Linked DNA regions of Homo sapiens: all the other regions are linked to region 4. The links are contacts of gene promoters, found by promoter capture Hi-C in blood cells and fetal thymus (Javierre and others, 2016). All regions are on one chromosome and are shown on one strand. Each heading gives the region's core, a stretch centred on a gene start or on the middle of the fragment in contact. The rest is flanking DNA. Distances are from core to core; before and after follow the strand shown. Region 1 overlaps LDB2 (LIM domain binding 2). Region 2 has its middle 2.2 kb from the start of SNORA75B. Region 3 has its middle 22 kb from the start of SNORA75B. Region 4 holds the start of LDB2 (LIM domain binding 2).

Evidence for each region. The method cuts DNA at HindIII sites, captures the fragments that hold promoters and counts their contacts. A CHiCAGO score of 5 or more calls a contact.
Region 1: a fragment that was not itself captured here is called in contact with the fragment with the promoter of LDB2 in region 4 in 1 of 17 cell types (endothelial precursors); the score reaches 5.3 in endothelial precursors.
Region 2: a fragment that was not itself captured here is called in contact with the fragment with the promoter of LDB2 in region 4 in 2 of 17 cell types (endothelial precursors and M2 macrophages); the score reaches 16.3 in endothelial precursors.
Region 3: a contact is called between a fragment that was not itself captured here and the fragment with the promoter of LDB2 in region 4, in 1 of 17 cell types (endothelial precursors). The highest score is 5.9, in endothelial precursors.

The regions. Positions count from the first base shown.
Region 1 is chr4:16,513,777-16,516,476 of GRCh38, reverse strand. The region is part of intron 5 of LDB2 (LIM domain binding 2); the gene reads left to right. The region is part of intron 2 of LOC105374505 (a long non-coding RNA gene); the gene reads right to left. Among named protein-coding and RNA genes, the nearest start is that of TAPT1-AS1, 290 kb to the right of the region's middle. The HindIII fragment of the contact is 1,040 bases long and covers 852-1,891 here.
Region 2 is chr4:17,321,752-17,324,451 of GRCh38, reverse strand. No RefSeq gene overlaps it. Among named protein-coding and RNA genes, the nearest start is that of SNORA75B, 2.2 kb to the right of the region's middle. The HindIII fragment of the contact is 1,694 bases long and covers 421-2,114 here.
Region 3 is chr4:17,341,843-17,344,542 of GRCh38, reverse strand. No RefSeq gene overlaps it. Among named protein-coding and RNA genes, the nearest start is that of SNORA75B, 22 kb to the right of the region's middle. The HindIII fragment of the contact is 3,005 bases long and covers 1-2,700 here.
Region 4 is chr4:16,897,320-16,900,019 of GRCh38, reverse strand. It overlaps LDB2 (LIM domain binding 2), which reads left to right and starts at 1,375. Exons shown (of 8, transcript NM_001290.5): 1 at 1,375-1,666. The coding sequence starts at 1,535. The HindIII fragment of the contact is 2,891 bases long and covers 938-2,700 here.

The DNA.
Region 1 (2,700 bases), core at 122-2,621, 380 kb after region 4:
GATTGTGTTATTCTCATTTTTGTGTCCCCAGCACCGAGCAGAATGCTTGATACTTAGGAGGAAGCTCAATAAATGTTTGTTTGTTGATGTAAAGTAATAGAAATGTAGTTTGTATTGCAACCTATGCATGCTTGCTAATATATAATTAATAATATCTACAGATTATTAAATAGTCATGCATTAGACATATTAACTCAAATTCTCACAACAGTATATAAGATGGGTATTGTTTTGCAGGTGAAACTGAAACCCAGTGTTTTTAAATAACTTACCCAAGGATGCATATCTAGTGAGAGTCAAAATCCATACCTAGGCTGGGCGTGGTGGCTCACGCCTGTAATCCCAGCACTTTGGGAGGTCGAGGTGGGCAGATCATGAGGTCAGGAGATTGAGACCATCCTGGACACACGGTGAAATCCCGTCTCTACTAAAAAAAATACAAAAAATTAGCTGGGCGTGGTGGCGGGCGCCTGTAGTCTCAGCTACTCAGGAGGCTGAGGCAGGAGAATGGTGTGAACCCAGGAGGCAGAGCTTGCGGTGAGCCAAGATCACACCACTGCACTCCAGCCTGGGCGACAGAGCGAGACTGTCTCAAAAAAATAAATAAATAAATAAATAAATAATAAAATAAATAAATAAATAAATAATCCATACCTAGACTTCTTAGCTTGTAAATCCATGTTTGTTCCACTCCACCCATGTATTTTATCTCCAGCATAAGCTCATTTACAATAAGTGGTAAATGAACCAAATGAAAATAATTTGAAAATGTTGAAAAGATTTTTAACTGTTTTAAATACTAAAAAAAATACTCTAAAATGTTTCCTAGTCTTTAGGATTTCTCTGAAGCTTTTCTTACCATTCTTGCTTAATAATAGATGCAGTGGTACTTCTTTGAGGGATAACCCACTCTTAAATCTACTTGCACAGATGACTGTGGAATCTTTCACTCCTTTTGGTCTGGTGAGCACTGATGGCTTGGAAAGGCAATGAAGTAGTCTGTAACTTACACTTTGATTTGTAGTAGCAAAGCATCTTTTTTTACAATTTTTATTTTAGATTCAGGAAGTACATGTGCAGGTTTGTGACACATGCATGTTATGTGATGCTGAGGTTTGGGCTTCTATTGACACCGTCACTCAAATAGTGAACATAGTACCTGATAGGTAGTTTTTCAACCCTCCCTCCTGCTTTTGGAGTGCCCAGTGTCATTGTTCCCATCTTTGTGCCCATATGTACCCAATGTTCAGCTCTCTTTTGTAAGTGAGAATATGCAGTATTTGGTTTTCTGGTTTTGTGTTCAGTCACTTAGGATAATGGACTCCAGCTGCATCCATGTTACTACAAAGAACATGATTTTGTACTTTTTTATGGCTGTGTAGTATTCTATGGTGAATGTGTACCACATTTTCTTTATCCAATCCACCACTGATGGGCACTTGGGTTGATTCCACGTCTTCGCTATTGTGAGTGGTACTGCAATGAACATATGAGTAAAGGTGTCCTTTTGGTAGAAGGATTTATCTTCATTTGGGGATATACCCTGTAGTGGGATCAGCAAGGAATTCTTAACAGAGTAATGCACACAGAGTCTTCATAATGTTGGAATATGGAGTTAACTCTATAGTAATCTTGCCTTTTTCACAGGTTTTTCCATATTAACACTTTAGATTTCAAAAAGGACATCAAAGTAAGCAAGATTGAAGATCCAGCATTACTAACCCAGGTCTCATTACTTTACAGCCTGGTTTATTAGGGTTGGTGTCTTGGCCCCTGTGATGTGCATATTCCTTGTGTTGTTCAGGCTTTAATCTTATTGTCTTCCAGAGAAATTACAAATGAAAGAAAAGTGCAGCTGGCCCTTAAATGGGGTGAGTGGTTTAAGCAAGCTTAGGTCAGTAATAGGTACAAACAACTGAAGAACCTTTCTAGGTAAACATAATTATCATGCTTAGACTTAAGAAGGAAGGAAGAGAACATGAGACAGTTGGTGGAAGTGAGAAGAGGATGGATTTAGAACTGGACACCACTGGGGGTTTGTGCAAGTCTTGCTGTCTCTATTATCTGTTCGAAAGCCCTGGATATATAGGTAAGTGGACCTCAAATTCTAGTCGTGTTTGTCAGAATTATGTGAGGGCATAGGGATACAAAAGTGTGATTCCTTTTCTTACCTATTATAAGGGTCACTCCTATAACAAAAGACAAGTTAACAAGAGAAAAGTATAACATATTTATTGAATCAAAGTTTTACATGACACAGGAGCCTTGAGAATGAAGACCCAAAGATACAGGAAAAATGATTCATTTTTATGTTTAGGCTCAATGAGGAATGCACAACTGTGTTGGACTGTGATTGGACAAAGAGAGTATGACCTAATGGGAATAACTGAATAGGGAAACGCAGCAAGGCCTGTCTGTTCAGATTCTTCTTTGTCTCTCCGTTCAGCATTCCTTCCTCCTGGATATGGGACAGGATCCTTGCTGGAATGTGGGTCTTATGACCTACTTCCAAAGCAGGTCACAGAATTTCTTTATGGTCAGCTCTTATACAGAAAGGCAGGGAAAAGTTAGAATAATATGTTTAGATTTTATGTCTACCTTTGGCGGGGATAGGTTCTGGTTTCTATGACCTTCCTTGGGGAAGAGGCATTCTAGTTTCTATGGCTTGCTGTGGGGGCGAATGAGGGATGGCAGAGTAGG
Region 2 (2,700 bases), core at 18-2,517, 420 kb before region 4:
CCAAAATTCACTCGAAGACTTGATCACATCATTAGTGTTGAGAGAATCATAAGCAGCTGCCAGAGATTGTGTTCAGAGCCAGACCGTGGTATCTCATGCCCACCTCAAAAGAAAAGAAAAAGGAAAAAATCATGGTAATCCTGGGGTGCAACTGGCTCTCCTTTTAGACTCTAACTCAAGCTGCTACATAATGTGGTCTTGCAATTCCTTGGCTTGAGAAGTAGGTCCTGCAAAGTTAAACTGGATGGCATAAAACATGCCTTAGTGATGGAGTCAACCTTTGTCTGGAAGAATCTGGAGTTACCAAAGGCAGAAGCATGGCAAAATTCTCACTGAAGAGCTGATGAGTGTCTCTCTTGGCAATTTTCCTGGTGGGCTTTGCTGATGGTTGAGGTGGGGTGGGGTGGGTGGCAGCAAGCTTGAATGACTGTAGAAATCAGGGAGGGTTCATTAAACAAAAAGTAAATAAAATAAAACAAAAATCTGGAAAGCTCATGTATCTTCCCACACCAGGGACAGGGTACCCACAGCATGCTCGGCACAGACCAGACCCTTTATGGAAAGTCAGCTGAACCTTGCCCTCGGCGTGCAAGGAAAAAAAATGTCTTTTCTGCCAGAAGTGTTGTATAAACATCCTTTTCCTACGATCCTGGATCCTGATCCTCTAGCTCCAGGACCCAGAGGAGCGTGGGGAAAGTATCTTAATGTAGACAGATTTCGAACTCCTGCTGTCCCTTTTCAGATCGTAAATTACCGTTAATGCTGTTTATACTCTTCCCCCTTCCTCTCTTAATAGTTTTAGAAACAGTAATTGACAACAAAATAGAGCCGCAAAGGGTGTAAGGGAGCCCTGCTTGGCTGGCTGAGAAGCAGCCAACTAAGTATCTGTTCATCATGTACGTCTCTGCAACAGAAGTAAAAGATTTACCCACACAGGTGCCCTTCCTTGCTTTCCTTTCGTCATTTTGCTGTGATGGAGCAGGGTACATCTCAATTTCAATTAACTGGAAAGAGAAAAGTTGCGTGTGTTTGCGTGCTTTTTGTCCACCCTGCTCCCTGTACGGGAGGCTGTACAAAGCTGGTGTGGGCTATGGAGCCTGGGGAGGAAGCTGCTCAGAAGTGGATCCCAGGATCTCTGTGGTTCTCTCTGCCCGGGTGTTGTCTTGTTTTGGGGTGCACGGTCCTCGGAAGCAGTTTCCTAAGACAATTCCAGCATGAGGAATATGCCCAGGCTTGAAGTTGGTGAGAGCTGGATTTAAATCCTAGATCAACCCACTTATTTAGCTGTCAACTTAACCTCTTAGAGTCTCAGTGTTCTCCTCTGTAAAATGGGGATAATACAGGTTGAATACCCCTCATCCAAAAATCCAAAACCCGAAATGCTTCAAAATGCAAAACTTTTGGATTTCACATCCAAACTTTTGCCATTGAATGCTGACACAATGTTCAAAGGAAATACCCATTGGAACATTTCAGATTTTGGATTCTCGGAGTAAAGATGCTGAACGCATAAGTATAATGCAAGTATTCCAAAATTAGAAAAAATATCTGAATTCCAAAATACTTCTGGTCCCAAGCATTTTGGATAAGGGATACTCAACCTGTAACAATATTCCCCTAAGGGAGTGGTTTGGAAGATTAAATAAAGCTGTGTTTGTAGAAAAAGTGACTGAGGCCTAGCAAGACATCCATGAATGCCTTTTCTTTTTTCAAAACCTCTTGACTTGTGCTGTCCAAGGTGGTAGTCACATGGGGCTATTGAGCACTTGAAGTCTGGCTACTTGAAACTGACAAGTTCTGTAAGTAGAGAATACACACCAGATATCAAAGACTTAGTAGAGAAAGAAAATAATGCAAAACATCTCATTAATAATGTTTTATACTGATTACATACTGAAATTTTAATACATTGCAAATATTGGATAAAATATATTCTAAAAGTTAATTTTACCTTTTTTAACTTTAAAAAATGTGGCCACTAGAAAATTCAGAATTGGATATGTAGCTTGTATTTGTGGCTCACATTATGTTTCTCTTGGGCTGTGCTTCTGTAGTTTCTCTTTTACTCACCTTCTATTCAAATTCTTTCCTTCTCTTAAGGCCTAGCTCAAGCTTTGCTGTCTTTTTGGGTCCTTTGGGTCAATCTCTCCCTTCCCTAAAATCTCCTAGGGGTTTTGTCATGGAGAGACAGTCACATAATGTGTATTTGTGGGCTGAATTTAAGCAGGAAAAACATATAAAGTGTTTAGCCCAGTGTCTGGCACATCACAAACAAAATAGTATGATTCATTTTTTTTTTTTTTGAGATTACCATTGGAGTCTGGCTACCTAGTTCAGAGCCGGTTTTTTTGCTGCCTTGCATCCTTCTCATGTGTTTAGTCTCTCTTCCTTGTGTGTTTAGTCTTGTTGAATATGCCTGTGAGGACAGAGAACCCGTCTATTTTTCCTGGGTTTGTTCTTAACCCACGAGGCAGCTCTAGCACAATGGATTCTCCCCTATGATTATTCACGGACAAAGCCAGCGCCTGTTGACTAAGCTGTCATCTTGGAGTCATTTGCCATTCTTTCCATTCTTTCCTTCATTCCACAGGTATTTGTTCTTCTTGGGATGCTTTTTCACCACTCTTTTCTTCATTGAGCTAACTCTTTTGCATCCTGAAAACAGTAATCGAGGTCAACATGTATAGCACTCACTATATA
Region 3 (2,700 bases), core at 63-2,562, 440 kb before region 4:
TATAGTTTTTTCCTCTAGATAATAACGTTAGTTTTAAGTGTGTTTGAAAAAGGATTTATTCATCAACACAGGTAGCTAAGGTTTTATACTTCTAGCTAGAGCGAGCTGCACACATATGCATATATGTATTTAATTTAAGTTTGTATAAGTACTCACATATTCATAAATCCTAACAAACTTCAAAGTTTCTAAATACAGTTTATCTGTAAAATTGAGGTATCAGTGATGACCTCATAGATTTGTTGAAAGAATTGAATGACATATCTATGTAACATGCTTAGAATACTTCCTGACACAAAGGAGTGCTACATATATGTGTTTATTACTATTATTAGTAGTAGTATAATTTGCGTTGTATTGGTGAAGGATCATGATAATAGAAGACTTTCAGAAGGAGGTGATATTTAAGCGGAATTTTGAAGTTTGGAGAAAGAAGAGAAAGGATTAGTGAAGTGGAGAAAGACACAGAGAGTGAGCACAGCCTAAGGCACCAACAGTATATGCAGGGAAGTTCTGGGGTGAGAGGGAGACTAAAGTGGGCTATGCTAATTCATTTGGAATTTATTCTAAATATCAAGCAGGAGCCATTAAAGACCTCTCCATTATAAATGAGATAATCAAATACTTGTTTATCCTAAATACACATTTATCCTAAAGAAGTAGCTAAGCAGGTGCCCAAAGATGTATGTATGTTCAAGAATGCTCATAAAATATTGTCTCTAGTATCAAAAATTTGGAAACAACCTAAATATTCAGCCGTAGAAAATTCATTAGTTTATACTGAAGTCATTATGATGTTTACATGCTCTTATGTATTGACATGAAAAGTTGTGCAAGATTTCCTGTTGAGTGAAAAAAACACAACAGCCAGGTTTAAAAATAGTTATAGTATTGTTTTGCAAATATATGTACATGTTTATATGAGTTGGTATGCTAGGAAAATTCTGGAATGTTTACATTAAGGAGTTAGCAGTAGTTATTTTTTGGTTGTGGAATTCAGAGTGATTTTAATTTAATAATTTTTATTTTTGTTATCTATGTTTACCAGTCATTTTATAATAAATATGAATTAGTGATTTGATTAACATAACAAAATGAAAGTAGTTATATTCTGCGGCATTAATGTTCATCAATGAAGGGGAAAAACTCTTCTGTGCTAGAGGGAACAATCTTAGTAGAATGTGTGTGGAGCCATGGGTGGAGGTAGGATTTCGAGAAGGTGGGTGGGAGGAGGGCTTATAAGCCTAACTCCTACTGCATTTACCCCTCCTGAAACCCCATTTATCTTCTCCCTTTCTTGGCATATCTTCCTATTGAGACAGAGATTCTCAGCTGGCTTGCTGCTAACATCTTGTCAACCTTCTCAGATACTCTGCTAAATTTTGATCGAAGTGTAAAAATGCATTTTTGCTAGAACCGCATATACCATGGCAAGGTCTATAGTGTTGTGAGGGACATGACGTTCTATCTAAGTCAATCCCAGTTCCATGTTACTTCTGAAATTTTTATACTTATGTAACAGTATTACACACACTAGCCTTGAATGATGGAGAGATGGGTTCTATTTGTATCATTTATTACTCTTGTTACAATTTTGGGCAACTCGTCGAACTGGTAGAAATGTCAGTTTCACAAACTTTAAAATGAGTGAGTATAAGTAAAAAATGCCTATTGCGAAGGATAGTTTGAGGTTTAACAACCATATAATGTGTGTGAAGATGCTTAGGAAACCCCAACTGTAACAGATGTTTATGGAGTGCCTAGTATGTGTTGGGTAGTGTTAGGTAATGTGCGAGGTGCTAAAATTGAAGTGACCCACAGATGCAATGATCCTACACAGTCCTCTGGGTACCTGGTAATAGTCCCAACTGGTGTCTCCCCATGTCACATTAGATGATAACCTTGTGCACTGTGGCTTGTGTCTATTTGTGTGTTTTGAAGTTGAAGTCATTGACTTGTTGAGATAGGTCACATTTATAGATTGATTAGACATTGAGTCCCAGGAACTGATTCAGTGAGGGTTTGGGGGTGAATTTCACAGTGATTTTTCAGAAATTGTGAGAGTTGTTATCATGAACGTATGTTTGTTTTTTTTTTTTTTATGACCTGGACTTTTGTTTGTCTGCCTCCAAGAGGGAACAGTAGAGAAGGATGATCTGCGAATTGGTTGTGATGGTTGAAGGGTTTATGTTCAAAAAGTGCTTCGTATGCTTGAAAATATTGTTCAGTTATTGCACGTGGTTCCAATAATCATCACTATCCTCAGTGTATTAGTCCATTCTCACACTGCTATGAAGAACTCCCTGAGACTGGGTGATTTATGAAGAAAAGAGGTTTAATTGACTCACAGTTCCACAGGCTTAACAGGAAGCATGACTGGGAGGCTTCAGAAAACTTAACAATCATGGTGGAAGGTGAAGGGGATGCAAGCACCTTCTCATGGCAGCGGGAGAAAGAGAGAGAGAAGGGGGAAGTGCCACACATTTCTAAACCATCAGATCTCATGAGAACTCACTCACTCACTATCATGAGAACAGCAAGGGGCAAATCTGCCTTCAAGATCCAATCACCTCCCACCAGGCCCCTCCACCAATTCCATGTGAGATTTGGGCAGGGACACAAATCCAAACCATATCATTCAGGAAATGACCATCTTCTCTAGTTGAATTAAAGTTGATGCTTTGGGATGGCAGAAAGCAG
Region 4 (2,700 bases), core at 126-2,625:
AAGTTAATTAATCTGCTTATTAAAAAGAAGAAATGTCTCATTTGCATGCATTTGCATTCAGGTCTTGAATTCATTATGCTTTTTGGTGGTCCTTTGCTTTATTTCCTTAATACCACTGACCTACCTAGGTGTTAGCTCAATACATTTAAATTTTGTGTGGCTGGGCTTTGTTTAAGTGTCGTATCTCTGGTTATAGTGGGTTCTAGCAGAATTTGATTATTTTATAGATTGTTTAATTCTCTATAGAGATTTTCCCCTTCCATGGGCTGTTGGGATTTCTTATGGTTATCATATACCACAGTTGGGAAAATATTTGTTTACTTGACCAATCTTGGAAAATACAGACTTTGTCTCCATAAGAGTTGGACATGTTATCTGGGGATGATCCATTCAATTATTTGCAATTTCCTTCTCAACCAAATTTTCCGTGGTCATTTTTGTGGCAGTTTTCTCCTTCTTTGCTTTTCCTGTCTTATTGGGAGGTCTGTTTGGGTTTTTTGTTTGTTTGTTTGTTTGTTTTTCCTTCCTGGGAAAAAAGACCATTGCTCTCCTTAAGTGTATTTTATACCTTCCACATTCAGAACGACTGTTTTTACCTGAAAATGCCCAGGCACCTTAAGGGCCTGAATGAAGTCTTTGGAGAAGAGGGAGGTGGCTGGGAAGAGGGGTGAGTGGGGAGAGATGGGAGTGAGATGGAGTGGAGGGCAAAGAATATAACAGCCCTTGGAACAACAGCAAGTAAAGCAAAACTACATAGGGAGATTAGTGCTGAAATAAATCTCTGCATGTGAGTGAATCACCGGTCCCAATTCGGGGCACCACAGTGCCCGTGTTTCTGTATTTTGTAGTAATCAACATTTCTGATACATTACAACAGTGTGGTTGTCAGGGGTGAGCGGCTCATGTAGCGGTTAGACCACCTCTATGCTAACAAGCTTAGCAATCAGGTTGTGAAGGGTCCTGGCTGGAGGAAAAAAATTAAAACCAAACCTTAGACCTCTTGTCAGACTGTGAGGAGAATTATATTTGTGAACTAGTCTACAATGTGGACAGGAAATGACCTCTCCACAAACTGCTTCTTTAAAAACAAGCAGTGGTGCCTAAAGCTATCCAGCTCCTCTCTCTCTCTCTCTCTCTCTCTCTCTCTCTCTCTCTCTCTCTCTCTCTCTCTCTCTCTCTCTCCCCCTCCCTCCCTCCCTCCTCCCTCCCTCCCTCCCTCCCTTCTTCCCTCCCTTCCTCCATACCAACCTCCCTCCCTCTCTGGAGCTCCTGCTCTCTCCCTCTCCCTCCTCTCCCGTGCTCCCTCCCTCCCTCCCTCTTTCCCTCCCTCCTCTCCTCTCCCTCTCCTCTCCTGCTATAGAGGGCTCCGACAGCAGTTCCCAGCCAGCGTGTTCAGCCTGCCTGCCTGCCTGCCTCTGTGTGTGTGTGAGCGTGTGTGCGTGCGTCTACTTTGTACTGGGAAGAACACAGCCCATGTGCTCTGCATGGACGTTACTGATACTCTGTTTAGCTTGATTTTCGAAAAGCAGGCAAGATGTCCAGCACACCACATGACCCCTTCTATTCTTCTCCTTTCGGCCCATTTTATAGGAGGCATACACCATACATGGTACAGCCAGAGTACCGAATCTATGAGATGAACAAGAGACTGCAGTCTCGCACAGAGGTAAGTACTTCAACCTTGGGGATGTGTTTGTGTATTTTTGTTAAGCTATGCATGAGCTTTTCCTAGGGTTTCTGGCTGAATTCTATGGGAAGTGTCCCACTTGATACTACCACGTACGTGGAAATGAGCGCCAGGATGAATCCACGAGTTTGGACGCTGGGTTTCCAGGCACAGCAACTCTTGTAGCAGAGGACAGTTTCTGCCGGAATCTTGAGACAACCCAGCACTTGATTCACATGCCGGGTTTCCAGAAATGTTGCTCTTCCAGAACTCTGGTGTTTTACAGGCTCTGAGTCAGTCCTGTTGGTGTTTCTTGAGATATAATTCCAAGGAATTTTGTGATTGTTTGCATCTGGCTATATATATATATACATATGTGTATATATATATATATATATATATATATACATATGTGTATATATATATATATATATATATATATATATATATATATATATTTTCTTTTTTACAAATCCTAGAGGAAGTCTGCTTTGACCTGTATTTACTTTTCAGAGTCACCAAAATCGAGGTAAAAAGGGGCAGAAGAGTAAACCTGCCTACTTCTCAGAACTAGCCCTGGAGGGACACATGTTTGTATATTTCAGTGTTAAAATCAGAAACCAGTTGCTTGGGGCAAGGGGACTCTAGACTTTCTCCTATTGCTGTCGGCCGTGCCCCCCTATCACTCTACCTTAGGACAGGAGCTGGTTCAGCTTTCAAGTCAGCTCTAGTTTTTGCATATTTGAGATCTTGTGCCTGAGAGAGGGAGACTCAGCCTCCTAGGCAGCCAGCAACTCTGGGAGCAGAGAGAACAGGACTTTCAGAACTTTTTAAATGCAAAACTCCAGACTCGCCTCCTGCAATTTAAATATTTTATGTCAGTTGACTTTTTCTCTGTGCTAGCTCAGCTGGCAGGTCTTGCTGCTGGATTGTCCATCTGCCTGTAAGTTGGGGCTTTGTGTGGAAGTGTTCGGAAAAGGAGTTTGTTATAGGTGCACCAAAGTCACTTTAGGAAGTGGAAATTGCTAGGAATT